7 separate regions of the Homo sapiens genome follow, and all the other regions are linked to region 2. The links are contacts of gene promoters, found by promoter capture Hi-C in blood cells and fetal thymus (Javierre and others, 2016). All regions are on one chromosome and are shown on one strand. The core of a region is centred on a gene start or on the middle of the fragment in contact, and the rest is flanking DNA. Distances in the headings are between cores, read along the strand shown. Region 1 overlaps RASGRP3 (RAS guanyl releasing protein 3). Region 2 holds the start of TTC27 (tetratricopeptide repeat domain 27). Region 3 overlaps RASGRP3 (RAS guanyl releasing protein 3). Region 4 has its middle 9.8 kb from the start of RASGRP3-AS1. Region 5 overlaps RASGRP3 (RAS guanyl releasing protein 3). Region 6 overlaps RASGRP3 (RAS guanyl releasing protein 3). Region 7 overlaps LOC105374455 (a long non-coding RNA gene).

Region 1 (2,700 bases), core at 1-2,500, 910 kb before region 2:
TCTTTTTTCTTTTCTTTTCTTTTCTTTTTTTTTTTTTCAGACGGAGTCTCACTCTGTCTCCCAGGCTGGAGTGCAGTGGCGCGATCTCACCTCACTGCAAGCTCTGCTTCCCGGGTTCACTCCATTCTCCTGCCTCTGCCTCCTGAGTAGCTGAGACTGCAGGCGCCCGCCATCGCGCCCGGCTAATTTTTTGTATTTTTAGTAGGGACAGGGTTTCACCGTGGTCTCGATCTCCTGACCTCGTGATCCGCCCGCCTCGGCCTCCCAAGTGCTGGGATTACAGGCGTGAGCCACCGCGCCCGGCCCTACTCTTTTTTCTACACGGAAAACTCTGACAGAGCCTTGTCCTACATTAGGTGATTTTTCTAATCTCAGTAACATCGGGCTGCTGTGTCATAAAATTCCAAAACTATACAAAAGGAGAAACTATCCAACTTACAGGATTTCTTTCCTGCCCTTGGGTAATCAATTTATTGGGCATCTTAGTGGGACCTATGTGGGTTTTTCATGAGTGATTCTAATCCCCAATCCCTTGAGCTGTTGACAATGACAGAGGTGGCAAATGCCTGTGAAAGAGAGGAGCTGGAAGTAGCTGAGAGTATCTGGGCAAGAGAGACAACAAAGGGAAAAGGGCCTTTCTGATCGACTCTCCCCAGGACCCAATGCCTGGTAGGACTAAGTGCCTGCTAAATTGTTCCTACCTGCCAGAGGGTTGTTTTCAGGGGTTCCATCAGATTCCTGGACAATCGCAGAACATTCTGGAAAGAGAAAGGGTCTTCTAGTGCCCTCTCTTTATTCTCCCTCAACCACTTACCTCCACTAATTTCCTTATGTGCTTGTTGATGACCGTGGGGTCTGGCTTTGGCATCACCCCTAATGCCCACTCCAGGGGTACCACAGGCTTGTTGGGCGTCGTAGGGGAGGTAGGCTGCTGATAAACAAAAAAAAAACCACATATTTTTCAACTTTATTATTATTATTATTTTGAGACAGGGTCTGGTTCTGTCGCCCAGGCTGGAGTGCAGTGGTGTAATTTCGGCTCACTACAATTTCTGCCTCCTGGGCTCAAGCCATCCTTCCACCTCAGCCTCCCAAGTATCTAGGACTACAGGTGTGTGCCACCACGCCCAGCTAATTTTTGTATATTTAGTACAAATGGGGTTTCACCATGTTGCACAGGCTGGTCTCTAACTCCTGGGCTCAAGCAATTCTCCGGCCTCAGCCTCCCAAAGTGCCGGGATTATAGGCATGAGCTACCACGCCTGGCCATATTTTTCAACATTAACTGGGGCCTTGAACAACTAGGACCAGGGACACTGAGAAGAATGAATAAGTTTTGTATATTCATAATACCAGTAGAAACTTACATTTATATAGCTATTAAATGCTTATAAAACAAGCATCTTATGTTAATGGAATCTAATCTGTAACTAAATGCATGTTTAGATACTGCCTTTTGTTTAACAGCAACTTAAATTCTATTATTTTATTTTTATTATTTATTTATTTATTTATTTATTTTGAGACAGAGTCTCTCTCTGTCACCCAGGCTGGAGTGCAGTGGCATGATCTCGGCTCACTGAAACCTCTGCCTCCCAAGTTCAAGCGATTCTTGTGCCTCAGCCTCCCAAGTAGCTGGTATTACAGATACCCACCATCAAGCCCAGCTAATTTTTGTAATTTTAGTAGAGACGGGTTTCCACCATGTTGGCCAGGCTGGTCTCGAACTCCTGACCTCAGATGATCCACCTGCCTTGGCCTCCCAAAGTGCTGGGATTACAGGTGTGAGTCACCACATCCAGACTAAATTCCATTATTTTAAATGGGAAAAAAGCAATGCGCTCCCAGTCCATCCAAAAATCCTATCCGAGTTCTCCAAATATCACTAAAACTTTTATATAACAATCCATCATGGATTTTTGTGTAATACAGGATACAAAAACACCAGTTATCTAATTCTCTAATACTTAGTGATCAGTTATGGTGCATGCAGCAAATGGGTACCAGTGGGTGGCCAAGTTTATGTCCTTACGTCTGCACCTTGCTCAATACGCTTAAGCACTTCTGACTGTTCTGCCAATCATTAGGTCTCTCTGGCCCTCTTTGGTGAACTTTCTTTCTCCACAGATTTTTCTGCATTCTTACAAGACATTTGCATATAAAGTTGTGGGGAAGATGGTAGCACAATGCATAACATGCTTGGATAACACAAGCACAGAACACAATCCTTTCAGGAGACCAGCCAAGACTGGTGTTCACTTTATATCCTCTCCCTGAAACCTTCATAAAATGTCAACATTTTTGCTGGTGCACACATGCAAATCTATTTTTTTCTATCTTTTCTTTTTAATTTATATTTATAGAGGCTGGGTACAGTGGCTCACACCTGTAATCCCAGCACTTTGGGAGGCTGAGGCAGGTGGATCACCTGAGGCCAGGAGTTTGAGACCAGCCTGGCCAACATGGTGAAACTCCCTGTCTACTAAAAATAGAAAAAAATTAGCCGGATGTGGTGGCACATGCCTGTAGTCCAAGCTACTTGGGAGGCTGAGGCAGGAGAATTGCTTGAGCCAGGGAGGTGGAGGTTGCAGTGAGCTGAGATTGCCACGGTACTCCAGCCTGGGAGACACAGCAAGACTCCGTTTCAAAAAAAAAAATTACATTTATAGATATATATACTTGTGTGTGTGTGTGGGGGGG
Region 2 (2,700 bases), core at 119-2,618:
CCGTGCATGGTGGCTCATGGCTGTAATCCCAGCACTTTGGGAGGCCGAGGCGGGTGGATCACCTGAGGTCAGGAGTTCCAGACCAGCCTGACCAACATGATGAAAGCCGTCTCTACTAAAAACACAAAATTAGCCGGGCATGGTGGTGCATGCCTGTAGTCCCAGCTACTTTGGAGGCTGAAGCAGGAGAATCGCTTGAACCGGGGAAGCGGAGGTTGCAGTGAGCCGAGATGGCACCAGTGCACTCCAGCCAGAGCAACAAGAGGGAGACTCCATCCCCCCAAAAAAACAACTTTGCTGCCTCATTTTAGCTCCTCTGCTTACCAACAGTGTGACCTTAAATAAATTACTTAACCAGACCCGGGCGCGGTGGCTCAGGCCTGTAATCCCAGCACTTTGGGAGGCTGAGGCAGGCGAATCATCTGAGGTCAGGAGTTCCAGACCAGCTAGGCCAACATGGTGAAACCTCGACTCTACTAAAAATACAAAATTAGCCGGGCGTGGTGGCGCATGCCTGTAATCCCAGCTACCCTGGAGGCTGAGGCAGGAGAATCACTTGAACCCGGGAGGCGGAGGTTGCAGCGAGCCGAGATCGCGCCATTGCACTCCAGCCTGGGCAAAAAGCAAAACTCCGTCTCAATAAATAAATAAATAAATAAATAAATAAATAAATAAATAGATAAAATAAAATTACTTAACCCAACTGTATTTACAGATCTTCACCGCAAAATGGGATTAAAAATTGAATCTACCTTAAGTATCTACTATAAGCATTAAATGACTGAGTACATGTTAAGGGCTTAGAAAAATAACTGACATTGCCATTGTCATTATTACTGAACCTGGGCGGTAAGAAGTTTTGCGCAAAGAAAGTGAGGACCACGCCCACCATGTCAAAGACTAAACGACCCAAAGCCTCAAGGAATCAGCTAGACTGTGTTAGGGAAAAATGAAGGGAGGGATGAGAATCAGTCGCTGCCATCCCTTTTCCTCACAGTTCCCACGATAGCCTAAGGCCCGGTAGGTGCGCCTCTCACCTGAACCGACGACCCCCTCCTGTTTCCATTGCTGCCGCTCAGCCTCAGTGGGGAATCCCCTCAGAATTGCCAGCTCCGGGGTCCACATCACCCCAGACACCGCTGCAGCCAAAACAGGCTCCCACGAGGGCCACACGGGAGTCAACAAAAGAAAGTGAAAACAGGAGAGTCCAAAGGCGCTGAAATCTAGTGGCGACAGTTACCGTAAATACACCTGCGGCCCTAGAATTCCATGTGCGGATACTACCTCAAGGAGGCGGCCATAACAGCAGCGCGGGGCACCCTGGGAAAAACACGCACGCTCTCTGGTCTGGCTTCCGCCTAGGAGAAGAACCCGAGCTTGAGTAAGGAGCCTGTTGGGTGGTTATGCCCCACCCCGGGGCGGGCAATAGGGGGAGTTGAGGGCGCGGTCGCGCTCAGCCCCGCCCCCAGTGGGACCGCTTCCAAGAACTGTGAACGTGGAAGTGAGTGTGCCTCCCACCGAGGGCTAGGGTTCAAATGCAACTCAAAACGGACGTCTTGGCCAAAGCAGTTTGATTAGAAGGGCTAGAGTTGTGATTCTTAAAGCATTTTGGGTTAGAACGCTCTCGACAACCCGATGAAAACCACAGTCCTTCGCGCAGAGTGCAGGTGGGCCCTTGCTCTCAGCCTAAGGGTACCCTCTCAGGGAATCACAGACCCTCTGACGTGGAGTCGGTGAAGCCCAGGTTGGAACCCCGTCAGCATAGCATGGGTCTTTCGGCGAATGAGCGTGTAAGGAAAGGATCTGGTTTTGACACTGCTCTACATGAATCATGGCCGGGTGGGAAATCTGCCCCTGCCGCTGGTGCAGGGAAGTTTTTGGAACACTGTCGGAACGCTGTAGAAGAGTGATCCCAGGGGTGATCACAAAGAAATTGCAAGGAGACAAACCAGCCTCCGCTGGTACCTTATTTGCACTTCTTTGAATCTTCCTAGCAGCACTCCAAAGAAACAGTTAGAGGGCGGGCGCGGTAGCTCACGCCTGTAATCTCAGCACTTTGGGAGGATGAAGCGGATGGATCACCTGAGGTCAGGAGTTCGAGACCAGCCTGGCCAATATGGTGAAACCCGTCTCTACTAAAAATACAAAAATTAGCCGGACGTAGTGGGGCACCCCTGTAAACCCAGCTACTCGGGACGGTGAGGCGGGGGAATTGCTTGAACCCGGGAGGCGGAGGTTTCAGTGAGCTGAGATGGTGCCACTGCACTCCAGCCTGGGCAATAGGAAAGAGGGAGGGAGGGAGGGAAGAAGGAAGGAAGGGAGGGAGGGAGGGAAGGAGGGAAGGAAAACAGGACTATGGCTTTGTCCCATTGGCTTGACACCTGTACTGAGATATGTCATGTAAGAGCCAGGAGAAAACTGCAGGGTAACTCTGACCACAAGAGCAAAAGCTCTCTGAAAAGAGGCTGACCCGGTACCCAGCTCCAAGGAAGAAGCTAAATAAATGTTAATTCACTTTCTTACTCAGTAAAGAGCCACTCCAGAATGTGAAGGGAGAGGAACTCAGCTCAGCTCATTTCAGCCATTGCCATCAGATACCAAAGGAAGCCGGACCTGACTGTGATTGGAGAAGAGCGGATGCCCTAAAATGTCCTCCCACTGAGAAGTAATTAAAAACTGTTTTTCAGGCCGGGCGCAGTG
Region 3 (2,700 bases), core at 201-2,700, 930 kb before region 2:
TTAGAGATCCTCAAGGGCCTCGTATCTCTGATTCTCACCACCCCCTTTTCCATGATGCTGTCAAAAGCTTCTTTTGAGCAGAATGAAAAGTTTCCAATTCTCCTTTATCTAAAAGTCTTTTGCTTCTACTGCCTTTCTTGAGTCTGGGCCCTGGTTCTAGCTTGGAAAACCAAGCTGATCTGTATCGTGTACTGGTATTTTGGATATATAGTCATGGGTTTCTGGGGCATCATTTCAGTACGCACACATGACAGCCTTCAATAGGTTTCAGAACTTGATCTCGTTCAATTTTTTTAAATCATGATACTGAGATCCATAAAGAAGAAACATATGTCCAGGGTCACATAGCTAGGCAGTGGCAAGACTAAAAGTGATACATGTCTTCATTCCCAACCATTCTGCTTTCAGAACTACCAGGCTGCCCCCCAGACCCTCTGTAACGCTCATCTCAGCACTTTCAGCCTCCTTCTTCTGGTTTTCTTTGTGGGTTGACCTAGCACTTACCTCACCATCCTGTCTGGTCTCTTCTCCTTCATCCTGGTCAAGTTCAAACTCCGTGCCCCGGTCTACAACATCCACACCAGCATGCACCCTGGGCTTCTCATTTTCCCATTTGGCAAAGCCTTTGTCCTTTGCTGCTTTGTCATGGAACTTGGATTTCATTTTAGGGAAGGTGTGGGACCCCGAGTCCCCCCAGCCAGCCTCTGACCAGACAGGTTCAGTCTGGGTGGCCTGGCTGGTGGTGGCCCTCTGTAGCCTCACAGAGATCTTGCGAGAAGAGCCTGTAACCAGTGTGATGGCTCTGCTGTCTAAATCCCTGTGTCCAGCAGTGACTCCAGGGAACTCAAACACCTCATCCTGCGCTGGAAGTGAAAAAGGGTGGTGATTATTTGACATCTGACTGCTTGACAGCAAAGCATCAAGGTTAGTGCAAACAGCACGAGTCTGGCATGCAACATTCTAGAGGAACCGACAAGGGACAGAACTCAATTAGCCGCAGGCAAGTTACATATTCCTGAGACTAGAAAGCAGAGAGAAGCAAGGATGATTCAAGGGTTTAGCTACTGCTGCTCACCCTAAAGAAGGCCTTAGCGTTTAGAGTGACTGACCGGGTTTAGACCCAGAACCTAAATGAGGTCCAAGTGTGAGGAGGCAAGCAGAAAGAGACCATGGCAGCAAAGAAAGCAGAGGGCATTACCTGGGGGCAGCGAGGGGCTTCCAGGCAGTGACCCATGACCACTGCTCAAGGAGGGCGCCCGGGCAAATCTCCTGCAGGCCAGAACCAGGAGGTCTTTGCACTGTTTGTGACAATTGGCTCCACAGTCTGAAAAATTCCAAGGGTGTCGCAGATGATTAGTGTGTCTGATGTTGATTCAGTTTCCAGGGTGGCACTTGATTTGTCAGCCCTCCCCTCCCCCACCCCAGTTTCTGTGTTGAATTTCAGAGTTGAGCTCAGGCCCATGGGGTGTGTCTAGGATCTGGAAAGAGGCCATTGGTCTGCACTTGCCTTCCTGAGGTTCCGAAAATTCTCTTAGATTTGCTCAGCTTGGTTCTGTATGCAATTGAGGACCTAATGAGCAATTGTGCCTAGGGAGTAAATAGAGTCCAGCCTGAGAGGTCAGTTGCCTTTGCCCAAAACTAAATGCAAATCAAATGGGGTTGAGAGTCTTTCCCAGGCTTAGACGGAATCCCCACAAAGAGAGCCTATGCCAGCATTAGGGCAAGAAGCCTCAGCTTCTAGTCTCTCCCAGGCCAACTGCCTCTGATCATTTACTGTGAGGTGTTCCTCCACTCAGCACTTGTCTGGATTTTTTTTTTTTTTTTCGAGATGGAGTCTCGCTCTATTGCCCAGGCTGGAGTGCAGTGGCGGGATCTCGGCTCACTGCAAGCTCCGCCTCCCGGGTTCACACCATTCTCCTGCCTCAGCCTCCCGAGTAGCTGGGACTACAGGTGCCCGCCACCACACCTGGCTAATTTTTTGTATTTTTTAGTAGAGACGGGGTTTCACCATGTTAGCCAGGATGGTCTCGATCTCCTGACCTCGTGATCCACCCACCTCAGCCTCCCAAAGTGCTGGGATTACAGGCGTGAGCCACCGTGCCCGGCCTTGTCTGGATTTTTTTACTCTTCTTCATTTTCCAAAACCTTTCAGGGCCAGTGATTATATCTTCTGCTTCCAACAGAACACAAGATGGGCATATGCTCAGTAAATATGTTCTATATTTGCTTATGGCTTTGAAACAGCGTGCAGCAGAGTCTGTGAATTGCCCATTAGGATGTTTTAGATAAGACAGTAGAATGTTAATTACTACTTGGGGTAGAAAAATGTGGCCACTTCAGATGGTGGTTCACAATTATTTCCTATGATGAGGGTCCTGCACTTCACTGAGAATCATTGAATAGAGATGATCATTTCTCTCCTACCATCAAGGAGGACCTTTCTAACTATTTCCAGTACCCATTTTCCCCTAAGTGACCTTGTTTCAAATAGTCTTAATGATGTATTCAATCTATTTCAATTCATTTTTTTTTTCACTTTATGTGCCATTAAGAAAATACAAGAGATAATCCAAAGGTGTAATAGATTTTCATCTTTATAAAATTGCGTGTGTGTGTGTGTGTGTGTGTGTGTGTGTGTGTGTGTATTTTAGGGTATGAGGATAGAAACCAGAATAAAACTAATGACTCACTGCTGGGCAA
Region 4 (2,700 bases), core at 46-2,545, 950 kb before region 2:
TGGGGCAGGAGAATGGCTTGAACCCGGGAGGCAGAGGTTGCAGTGAGCCGAGATTGCACCTCTGCTCTCCAGCCTGGGCAACAGAGGGAAACTCCATCTCAGGGAAAAAAAAAAAAAAAGAAGAAGAAAGGCCTGTAGTTCAGTTCAGTAAAAATGAGTGTCTGCTATATTCTAGCACTGTGCTGGGCTGAGGTAGAAAGTCCATGGCTTGAGAAATGTCTCAGCATGGACTGAGTGACAGAGCCAGAAACATAGGTAATTGTAGCATAAATAATAATGAAAATTATGTGTGGGTACTAGGAGAGCATGGTGTTTCTGTATTGCTTATATGGGGTGGAAATTGGCAGAAATTGGAAAGATTGCAGGGGTCAGGTAATAGAGGGCTCTCCATGCCGTCCTGAGTAACTTGGAGCTACTTTGTGTACGGTAGTATACCAATAACACGGCATATTCAAGTTTGGCTCTGTGTAAATTATTGGCTCAAGAGTAGGGGATAGACTCAAGGAGGAGGGCAAAGGTTGGAATCAGAAGCGTAGAGCTTAAATTAATGTGGTAGACATAGTAAGGGTATAGAAGGGGCAGATTTGAGAATTATGTCGGAGGCAAATATTATAGGAGTATATTAGAACAAGAAATGTAGTATGAACCTTGGTTTTTGGTTTTTTTGGTTTGTGATTGAGTAGATGATGAACTACCAATTGAAATCGAAATTAGAAGAAGGGGGAAAGGTGGGCTGGGGGAAATGATTTCAGTCTGAAACTCCAGAAAATGCCTGGAGATAGAAGTCTGGGAATGATCAACATCCACTGATTTTTGCATTGAAACATTTCATCAGAAAAATGATTCCAAATTAAACCATCCAAAAAGGGAGGAAAGGGGCAGTGGACCAAGGATGGAATCTTAAGGATTAATCAGTTAAGGGATAGATGGAGCAGGGTCACAGAGTAAGAGGGACACCTAGAGAACAGTGTTGTGGAAGCTTAGGGTTGGTAGTAAGAATGGTAATTTATTACTGTTATTACTGTTTATTGAGAGCAACATGAGTACTACTATTAACCCTCTTTTCACATGTAAAGAGTATGAAGCCAGGATAGTTGAGAAGACTTGCCCATATCCATATAGTTAGTAAGCGGGGGAGCTGGAATAAACCTAGGGCCATCTGGCTCCAGAGCTCAGTAATGCACAATTCCAGATGCTACAGAGAAATTCAACGAACTAGAGTTGAAAAATAGCCGTATGTCTTGCGGCGTTTTTGTGTTGGTGTTGTTTTCTTGTGGCATTTTCAAGAGCAGTTTCAGAATAAAAATGAGACCAGTTTTCTGGAGTTTAAGGAAAGAATGAGAAAATAAACCATAAATTTAGATTATAGTTGACCCTGAACAACAGATCCATTTATATGAGAAAGTTTTTCAACCAAATGCCGCTGGAAAATACAGTATTCACAGGATGTAAAGACCTCCGTATAGGGAGGGGCTGATTTTTCATATATGTGGGTTCCACAGGGCTGACTGTGGACTTGACTATGTGTGCATATTGGTATGTGCATTAGTTCAGGGGTCCTGGAACTAATCTCCTGTATACCAAGGGACCACTGTAGTTCTAGAAGCTTCACTGAGAAAGGACTGAGTAAAATAACAGTGTAACATTTAGTGGAATGAAGTGATGTACTCTGAAAGGTTACAAAAAGCCAGGGAAGTCTTAAAGAAAATATAATTGAAAGTCTTTAAGAACCCAAAAGTATCAATAATAGAATTATTTAGGGGTTCAAATATCTAGTACTCTCTCTTTATTTATTGGTTTATAAATGAATAAATGCATGAACGACAGGCCTAGACTAGAGTGATCATAGCTCACTGCAGCCTCGACCTCCCAAGCTCAAGTGATCCTCCCACCTCAGCCTTCCGAGTAGCTGGGTCTGCAGGTGGGCACCACCACACCCAGCTAAGTTTTTTCATTTTTCATAAAGCCAGGGCCTCGCCATGTTGCCCAGGCTGGTCTCAAACTCCTGGGCTGTTGCGATCCTCCCACCTTGGCCTCCCGAAGTGCTGGAATTACAGGTGTGAGCCACAGCGCCTGGCTTCTTATGAGGCATTTACAAAATGGTCGAGATAACAGGCTTATTTTGCAAAATGTATGAAAAGTACTATCAAGTCCTCAGAACAGGTAAGTTTATTCCGAGTTATGCAAAATTTCCAGCACTTATCAAGGCCTTAGTCAACACCAGCTGTATTATCTCTCAAGGTTTAACTGCTTCAGAATTGTTTCTTTTCCAATAGAAACCAATTTATGTGATATGGTGTGGAAGATGATCAATCACAAGTTAACTACACGAATGTCTAACTACAGAGAAATTTGCTTCATTCTAACCCTCAAATAGTAGAAATTAGTGAAAAATTTTGTAATGAAACAAAAAGTAAATTACAACCTAAAAGGATGAGCCAGGGCTTTTTAAAAAATCTCATTTGTAATGATAATGAAATGTAATAAATTTAAATTTTGTGGTGCCACTCTTTTAAGGTTAACACCTTATCAAGTTATTTAAGTGCTTACTCTGGAAAAAATACAAGTAATGGAAAGCATTTTTCCCCTAGATACCTACTGTATAACAAACTAGGGCAATGAAATTTGTACCTATGTTAAAATTTGAGAGCAATGGGTGGATGCAACAAATACTTGACTAACAATTCATGTAAATTACCA
Region 5 (2,700 bases), core at 38-2,537, 890 kb before region 2:
TACCGTTTTACAGACTACATTTAACACCAAGTCCAGGACCATCCAGGACCACACTTCAAATTAGCCATCTCCTGTCTCCAAAACCCCATCCATCACATGGAGCCTCTCTCTGCCCTCCTTCAATCTAAAACCGCTCCCACTCATAGCCTCTCTTTCAGTTGAGAGGAAACCCTTCCTTCAATTCATGGTGAGTAGATGGGAATGGGTGTGGTGAGGGAATAGAAGAAAATAAATCCACCCTTTCTAAGAGCTAGTTTCATTCCGTAATCACATTTACTACTACTTGATCTCTAGTCCAAAAGATAGTTCCCCCCACCCCACCCAACAGAGGAGAGCCAATTTTAACAAAGTTGGTGGGAGGGGTATCAGAGTAGAGTCTGTTGTCAAACTAGGTCTGCAGCTTGGGGAAAAGGAAATTGTCCACGATTCCAGAACCAGAAACTACAAGAAATTAAATTTGTAAATATATTTACCTCATGAAGTAGCAGATCTTTAATCGAAATTCATTGCAGCTTTCTCCAGTGGCATTTCGATACGTAAACCAGTTAAAGAAAAAAAATCCTTGCACCTCCTTTCCTTTGCACACCCCTGCAGCTGTGCCCTCAATGTATACCAATTCCTAATAAGAGGACCATGCTGGGGTTATATAGACACTCAAATACGGAGAGAAGTGGCCTCTGATGACTTCCACACTGAACAATTGAAACTTGATTTATTATAGCTCTGGAATGCATTTTTTTGGTCTGAAGAAGAAGCCACTTACAGGATTAGTTTTGCCTTCCTCCACACTTATTAACCAATAACTGCCAACTGTAATTACAAATAGTCTGGCAACTATACATAATTAAAGTTGGTAGTACAGAGAAACACTACATTGTTTTGAGATGGAGTCTCGCTCTGTTGCCCAGGCTGGAGTGCAGTGGCACGATCTCGGTTCACTGCAAGCTCTGCCTCCCGGGTTCACACCACTCTCCTGCCTCAGCCTCCCTAGTAGTGGGAACCCGCCAACATGCCTGGCTAATTTTTTGTATTTTTAGTAGAGACGGGGTTTCGCCGTGTTAGCCAGGATGGTCTTGATCTCCTGACCTTGTGATCCGCCCACCTCGGCCTCCCAAAGTGCTGGGATTACAGGTGTGAGCCACCGCGCCTGGCCGAGAAACACTATTTTAACCAAAAAGATTTTGTATTTAGGATTAATGCCTTATACAGTTATGCACCACATAACAACGTTTCAGTCAATGAAGGACTGCATATGTGACAGTGGTCCAATAAGATTATAGTGGGATTGAAAAATTCCTATTGCCTGGTGACATGGTAGCCAGCATAATGTTGTAACCCAATGCATTACTCATGTGTTTGTAGTGATGGTGGTGTAAACAAACCTGCTGTTGTGTGAGTCATATAAAAGTCTAGTGTGCACAGTTATGTATAGTATATGATACTTGAGAATAAATGACTGTTATTGGTTTATGTATTTACTATATTATTTTTGTTGTAATTTTAGAGTACTCCTTTTACTTAAAAAATTAAAAAGTTAACTGTAAAACAGCCTCAGCAGGTTCTTCAGGACCTATTCCAGAAGAAGGGATTGTTATCATAGGAGATGACCAGCTCCATGCCTGTTACTGCTCTTGCAGACACCTTCCAGGGGAACAAGAGATAGAGGTGGAAGACAGTGATATTGATGATCCTGAGCCTGTGTAAACCTAAACCTAGGCTAATGCGTGTGTTTCTGTCTTTGCTTTTAACGAAAAAAGTTTAAAAAGTAAAAAAAAAAATTTAAATAGAGTAAGTTTGTAGAATAAAGATATTAAGAAAGAAAATATTTTTTACAGCAGTGCAATATATTTGTGTTTTAAGGTGTATATTACAAAAGGACTAAAAAGTTTTTAAAGGTTTATAAAGTATAAAAGTTACAGTAAGCTAAGGTTAATTTATTATTGAGGAAAGAAAAATATTTTTATAATTTGGTGTAGCCTAAGTGTATAGTGTCTATAAAGTCTACAATATTGTACACTAATGTCCTAGGCCTTCACATTCACTCTCCACTCACTCACTGACTCACCCTGAGCGGCTTCCAGTCTTGCAAGCTCCATTCATGATAAGCACCCTATACAGGTGTACCACTTTTTATCTTTTATACCATATTTTTACTGCACCTTTTCTATGTTTAGATACACAAATACCCACCATTGTGTTACAGTTGCCTATAGAATTCAGTACAGCGACATGCTGTACAGGTTTGTAGTCCAGGACCAATAGGCTGTATCATATAGCCTAGGTGTGTAGTAGGCTACAGCATCTAGGCTTGTGTGAGTGCACTCTATGATGTTTGCACAATCATGAAATCATCGAATGATGAATTTCTTAGAATGTATCCCCGTCGTTATGTTATGTGTAACTGTATGGGTACTCTAATTTCTTCTTTAATATTTGAAAATGTCATTTTCAGGTATATTAATACTCAAGTTGTGTTATTTACTTGTAAGCGTATTTATTCATATTCTTTTTAACAAATATTTATTGAGCTTGTGTATATGCCAGGCACTGTGGATATAGCATGAGCAAGGAATCCAAAGGGAGGAAAGTTTATAGAAATGTCGATTCACAGGCAGTCTTCAACTTTCCACATTAAACGTTACTATGCCTAAATATCCCTTTTTATTTGTGTTTCATGCATTGGTGGCCATGCTAAGGGTG
Region 6 (2,700 bases), core at 110-2,609, 870 kb before region 2:
AAAAGGGCAGCAGAGAGAAATTCCATCTCAAAAAAAAAAAAAAGAAAGAAAAAAAGAAAGAGACAGTTAAAAGAGACCAAGGAATAGGAATAAGGATGTTGTTGGTAGGTTGTAAAAGGAGGAATTAATCAATTGTAATTTACTAAAGTGTGAGCAAATTAAGACAAATGAAGGGAAGCCCAGAGTGAACTAATTTCCCTTGACCTACCATGTGAAGGTATCTACACCCCCCAACCCCCACCCACCTCCACACACAGAAACAGCACCATGCCTTTCTTCTCTCTTCACCAGTTCCTTGGTGTAACTGTCTAGAGTTCATGCGTCTTACCACTTCTCCTTCCTCTAGCTTGTAACTCCCCTTGTATTTCCTCTACATAGATAAACGTGAGGTGTCTTCTGGCCAAAACCAAACACTAACAAACAAACAAAATTTAGCAACCCTCTACTGGCCATCTCTCCCATCCCTCACAGCCAAGTAGAATTTGCTGGTTCTATTTGATCCTCTCTTCAGACCACCCAAATCAAGCTCTGTCTAACTCCCCTTCTACTTCCTGCCCTCATACTCTATTCAAACTACTCTGGCAAAAGTCATTACACCCGCTAAGCTCTCTTCATTGTCTTCTTATGCTAAGGCTTAGCCGCAGTGTAGTACTTCTTGACCACACCCTCCCTTAAATTCTCCTTTTGGTTGGTTTTCCTGGCAACATCTCTTCCCTGGTTTTTCTGCCTCTGGTCATACCTCATCGTCTCATCTGCAGACTCCTTTCCTACTGCTGGCCTCTAAACTGCCAACGGTTCTCATGTCTCCATGCTGAACTCATCCACAGAAGTGGCTTCAGCTACCACCTCTACGTTGATGACTCCAAACCAAACAGAGACAAGCTACACGCAAACTGCAGAGGAAGGGAGTAGGGTTTGGAGACAGGTGGACTTGGGATTGCAACCTAGCTCTTCTACTTACTAGCATGTGACTTTGGACAAGTTTTACTTAACATTTGGGTGAGTTTTCGTATCTCACCCTCATCCATCGCTAGTGGAAATGTAAAATGGTACAGTCACTTTGGAAATGAGTTAGGTAGCTCCTCAAAAACTTAAACATAGAGTTATCATATGATCTAGCAAATTCATTCCTAGGTACATACCCAAGAGAATTGAAAAATGTTCATAGCAGTATTATTCATAATTTCCCCAAAGTGAAAACAACCCAAATGTCTATCAATCGACAAATGGATAAACAAAATGAAGTATATCTCCATACAATGGAATATTATTTAATGATAAAAAGGAACAAGGTACTGATACATGCTGCAATATAGATAAACCTTGAAAATGTTATACTAAGTGAAAGAGGCCAGACATAGAAGGCCACATATTGTGCAACTCCATTTATAGAAAATATGTAGAATAGGCAAATCTATAGCGACAGAAAGGAGATTAGTGGTTGCCAGGCACTGAGGGAAGGCAGGAATGGGAATTGACTGCAGTGGGTTCACCGTTTCTTTTTGGAGTGATAAAATTGCTGTCCAATTTGATAGTGCTAGTTGTTGAAGAACCTTGTGAATACACTAAATACCATTGAACTGTGCACTTTATTTTATTTATTTATTTTTTTGAGACGGAGTCTTGCTCCGTTGCCAGGCTGGAGTGCAGTGGTGCGATCTTGGCTCACTGCAACCTCCGCCTCCCAGGTTCAAGCGATTCTCCTGCCTCAGCCACCTGAGTAGCTGGGATTACAGGTGCGCGCCACCATGTCCGGCTACTTTTTGTATTTTTATTAGAGATGGGGTTTCACCATGTTGGCCAGGCTGGTCTCAAACTCCTGACCTTGTGATCCGCCTGCCTCGGCCTCCCAAAGTGCTGGGATTACAGGCGTGGGCCACCGCACCCACCTCCTTCTCATTTTTTTAACCTGCTATATCTCCCATATTTCCTTCCTTGGTCTATGGCTCAACCTGCCTCCCAGTATTCCATGCCAGAAACTTGGGACTCACCCTAGATTTCCTAGCACTCTCTTTTGCCATCCCTCATGCCCAAGTCTGATCACCTACTTCCCAGTTGTTTCTTCTCCTCGCCCACTGCCCTTCATCTCCACCGCCTCTCCTGGGTTCAAGCTGTCATCCCGTATCCCCTGGCCCACCGCAATGGCTCACTTCTCAGACTTCTATATTGGTTCTCAGTTCCTGTTTATCTCCCCTCTCTCCTGGGCCCAAATCAATCTTTCCAAATTATCAGATTGATTGCGGAACTCCTGTCTCCAAAATTCTTCCACAGTTCCCTGTGGTCTTACATAAATAGAAAGTCCTTTCCATGGCATACAAAGCCTGCCCCCTGCATTCCCTCCCTCCTTTTTCCTCTCTTTACTCCAGCACATGTGATACTGCTGTGAAAGGGAACTCTGGTTTCACAGACCCCATGCTTTGCACACATTGTTTCTTTATTTTTTTGAATGTCTCTCCTCTCCCAATACTTACGCTTGGCAATCCCCTACTCCCTTTTCCAGAATTCTCCTCTTCCTTCCTCACCCTTCCAGGTGGATTTTGGCACTCAGTGTACTGACTTCCTTTAGCTTTGTAAAATTTATGTTACTGAATGGTTCTGTCGGTCTCTCCAATGGCTTAAGAACAAAACTGTATTTTTTCTATCCCCTAGCCCAGAAGTGTGCCTGATATCTTTATATGACTACTTTTCTCTGCCATCATA
Region 7 (2,700 bases), core at 179-2,678, 980 kb before region 2:
TCAGCCCATTTTGTAATCACCCCATCCCCCAAGGAAGTCTTATCTCTCAGTTGGGGGGATTGGGATGTTTCCATATCTTCCAGGTGGCCAAGAGCATGCTTCTCTAATCCAAGTGTGCAAAGAGCAAAGTATTTCTCCATAACTGCCTCAGCCATCCCTTAAAGTATATTTTCTACCTAGTTATTATACACCAAGGCTAAAATGCAAAGTAATTTGATACCCCCACATGTCAAAATCATCAGCTAATGCAATGCAAAGTAATGTTTGATACCCCCAAAAGTCAAAACCATCAGCTAACACAGTGCAAAAGAGAACAGAGCCTTAGATTTTGAGAGGGATTTATTTTCTTTCAATTCCTGGGGTTCCATGGGAAAACAGAAGTTTTTCCCAGAATGGGGTCCATGGTACCTCCTGTTTTTCCCCAGGCAGCCCAGGCTGTTAGTAATTATCTTATGTTTTCTCATGTGGGCATCAACAGTGGCAAGAAGACAAAATGAAGAAAAACAGGTTAGTTGACTGATAAGAAAAACATTTTTCCCTTTTCTTTAGAAGAAAAACATGATTCAAGAAAAGGAAAAAAAGTCTTTTAAATATATATAGCTTGAATATCCATTTTTAATTAAGCCAATTTTAACCACAGAGTTCTTTTGTTAAAAAATTCTTTTTTAAATCTCTTATTACCAGACTCTAGCCAGGACAGCCAATATTTCCGGCCTTTGAATTCTACCCCAGGTAACCTCCCACATGAAATAGTAAGTCTTAACTAAGGTTATAACTTAACCATTAACGCATAAGGTGTTTTAAAGAGATGGTAAGCAGTTTCTTTTTTTTCTCTTTTTCTTTTTTTTTTAACAAGATTTAGAATCTTCCCAAGGTTAGTTCAGAGAAAGGAAAATTCAAGACAGGAAATCAGAAGCTATCCATGGGGAGAGGGAGGGAACCTCCATACATGGCAAAGTTACACAAATAACAAACCAGAAAGGAATCATTCGGAAGCCAAGAATTGAACCTGGGCCACCGCTGTCAAAAGATAAAGCCTTAGCTACTAAACTACACAGCACTGAGCATTGTTTCTCCCAGAAGAAGTCTGCAGCAGCCAATTTCAAGCTTGCAAAGACTTTTAACTGCTCAAGGTAATTTTTAAGGCTGTGACATGAACCCCAAAATTCCTGTCCTCTGGATGGTGGAGACCAAGATAAAGTATCCCCACATGGTCACAATGTTAACTTCTTAAGGACACAAAACAAGACAAATTTCATCTGGTATTGGTTTCAGGGACTCGCAGCAAAGTCTGTAACGGACCAGCCTGCCAGGCTGGCTTGAAAAGTTGGCTTACAGGGGTCCTAAGCCCACGTTCTATCCTGTGATACCCTCCTCTCCATTACAGAAAGACAAATTCTTGGCACAAAGTGCACCAGATTTGCTATAGCCTATGACTAGTCTCACAAATCCTTTTTTTACTATTAATAAAACCCTTGCAGAGGAGACACAGTGATGTTTATCATTTACCATCACCCGACATGCAGAGAAAGAAAGAGAAAGAGAGGCAGGCCAGAAACTTGACTGATAAGAATTTCTTACCCTTTTTGCTGGTATACCAGGTTTCTGGGTCCCCTTTCTCTGCAGCTTCCAGAAGAATGGAGAGGCTTTTGATGGCCCTGTTCACTGTGCCATAGCTGTCGGCGACCAAGCCCCATTACAAAAGAAAATAATCCTTTTCTGTTTTATGAAACCATCAGCAAAAGCTTCTCAATTATGCAAGATGCTGCCTGATGAGCTGCATAGGGAACCAAATTAACATTTTCCATCCCAGCAGAAGCAAAATACACATAACACAATGGACACTGGTCACCTCGCTCAGCACCCAACATCAACCTGGCAATGCTGAAACTTTTTCCCATTGGTCCCTGTTGTCTTTGATCCACTCAAGGTGGGGAGGGGTGACCTCCAATCCAGAATTCAATGGGTTGTCTCTGGGCAAGATGAAGAGCAGTTACCCTCAATCAGGCCTGTTAAACTTCTTTCCGGACTCACTGAATGTGACCAGATAGATAAGGAGGGTTCTCTGAGTTAGGCCTGCTAGACTTCCATCAGCAATTCCTTCAGAAATATTCTCCACATATACAAACACATACACAAAGACAAGATGGACAGAAGGCCTTCCGAATCAAGATCCCTAACCAAGAATTCCAGAGTATACCTTCCCAACTATCCTCCTATTCTCCATGTGAGAAATCTCCCCGAAATCTTCCTGATTGAGGAGAAGTCTCCTCAACCAATACCCTTCCTATTATTTAGGGAGAGCCAACCAAGGCCTTTCAGGAGCCAAACCAGGACAGACACCCCATGGTGGAGCAACAGACACCCTGTGCAATGAGGCTACAGACAGACACTCCACCATGGGGCGAGAGAACCAGTCAGGAGAAGGAAGGAGGCATTGGCAGTGCCTAGGATACTCACCAACCCAGACACCCTGCAATGGGCCTACAGACAGACACCCTGTGATGGGGATACAGTTATGGGACGTCTCCCCAGGACTACTTCTCTATTGCAATTAGATCCTTGCATGTTGGGTTGGCAGCACCCCACCAGTAGAAACAGGACCAGAGTTAGCCTCCAGTCCAAGAGAACTAGGTGGCTGCTTGGGCTGGCCTCTGAATCCATCACTGGAGGGGGGCTGCTGAACCATGGGCAGACCCA

The links. Contacts are between HindIII fragments. The CHiCAGO score rates a contact against its expected background, and 5 or more counts as called.
Region 1: a contact is called between a fragment that was not itself captured here and the fragment with the promoter of TTC27 in region 2, in 1 of 17 cell types (total B cells). The highest score is 9.7, in total B cells.
Region 3: a contact is called between a fragment that was not itself captured here and the fragment with the promoter of TTC27 in region 2, in 7 of 17 cell types (total B cells, naive B cells, M2 macrophages and 4 more). The highest score is 20.3, in total B cells.
Region 4: a contact is called between a fragment that was not itself captured here and the fragment with the promoter of TTC27 in region 2, in 14 of 17 cell types (total B cells, naive B cells, fetal thymus and 11 more). The highest score is 20.3, in total B cells.
Region 5: a contact is called between a fragment that was not itself captured here and the fragment with the promoter of TTC27 in region 2, in 3 of 17 cell types (naive B cells, total B cells and M0 macrophages). The highest score is 8.1, in naive B cells.
Region 6: a contact is called between a fragment that was not itself captured here and the fragment with the promoter of TTC27 in region 2, in 5 of 17 cell types (total B cells, naive B cells, M2 macrophages and 2 more). The highest score is 8.5, in total B cells.
Region 7: a contact is called between a fragment that was not itself captured here and the fragment with the promoter of TTC27 in region 2, in 1 of 17 cell types (total B cells). The highest score is 7.7, in total B cells.

Annotation. Positions count from the first base shown.
Region 1 is chr2:33,537,325-33,540,024 of GRCh38, reverse strand. RASGRP3 (RAS guanyl releasing protein 3) reads right to left here. Exons shown (of 18, transcript NM_001139488.2): 12 at 815-931. Among named protein-coding and RNA genes, the nearest start is that of RASGRP3-AS1, 31 kb to the left of the region's middle. The HindIII fragment of the contact is 4,282 bases long and covers 1-2,700 here.
Region 2 is chr2:32,626,718-32,629,417 of GRCh38, reverse strand. TTC27 (tetratricopeptide repeat domain 27) reads right to left here and starts at 1,368. Exons shown (of 20, transcript NM_017735.5): 1 at 1,038-1,368. The coding sequence starts at 1,125. LOC124905985 (a long non-coding RNA gene) reads left to right here and starts at 2,640. Exons shown (of 3, transcript XR_007086273.1): 1 at 2,640-2,700. RefSeq lists a silencer at 879-1,008 and enhancers at 1,259-1,318, 847-1,506, 1,729-1,788, 1,507-2,168. The HindIII fragment of the contact is 6,273 bases long and covers 1-2,700 here.
Region 3 is chr2:33,556,835-33,559,534 of GRCh38, reverse strand. It overlaps RASGRP3 (RAS guanyl releasing protein 3), which reads right to left. Exons shown (of 18, transcript NM_001139488.2): 16 at 1,199-1,324; 17 at 505-863. All of the region lies in intron 3 of RASGRP3-AS1 (RASGRP3 antisense RNA 1), which reads left to right. Among named protein-coding and RNA genes, the nearest start is that of RASGRP3-AS1, 11 kb to the left of the region's middle. The HindIII fragment of the contact is 2,761 bases long and covers 70-2,700 here.
Region 4 is chr2:33,577,898-33,580,597 of GRCh38, reverse strand. No RefSeq gene overlaps it. Among named protein-coding and RNA genes, the nearest start is that of RASGRP3-AS1, 9.8 kb to the right of the region's middle. The HindIII fragment of the contact is 627 bases long and covers 982-1,608 here.
Region 5 is chr2:33,517,788-33,520,487 of GRCh38, reverse strand. It overlaps RASGRP3 (RAS guanyl releasing protein 3), which reads right to left. Exons shown (of 18, transcript NM_001139488.2): 5 at 474-536. Among named protein-coding and RNA genes, the nearest start is that of RASGRP3, 42 kb to the right of the region's middle. The HindIII fragment of the contact is 3,312 bases long and covers 1-2,700 here.
Region 6 is chr2:33,499,845-33,502,544 of GRCh38, reverse strand. The region is part of intron 1 of RASGRP3 (RAS guanyl releasing protein 3); the gene reads right to left. Among named protein-coding and RNA genes, the nearest start is that of RASGRP3, 25 kb to the right of the region's middle. The HindIII fragment of the contact is 5,355 bases long and covers 1-2,700 here.
Region 7 is chr2:33,611,731-33,614,430 of GRCh38, reverse strand. All of the region lies in intron 1 of LOC105374455 (a long non-coding RNA gene), which reads right to left. Among named protein-coding and RNA genes, the nearest start is that of FAM98A, 14 kb to the right of the region's middle. The HindIII fragment of the contact is 638 bases long and covers 1,110-1,747 here.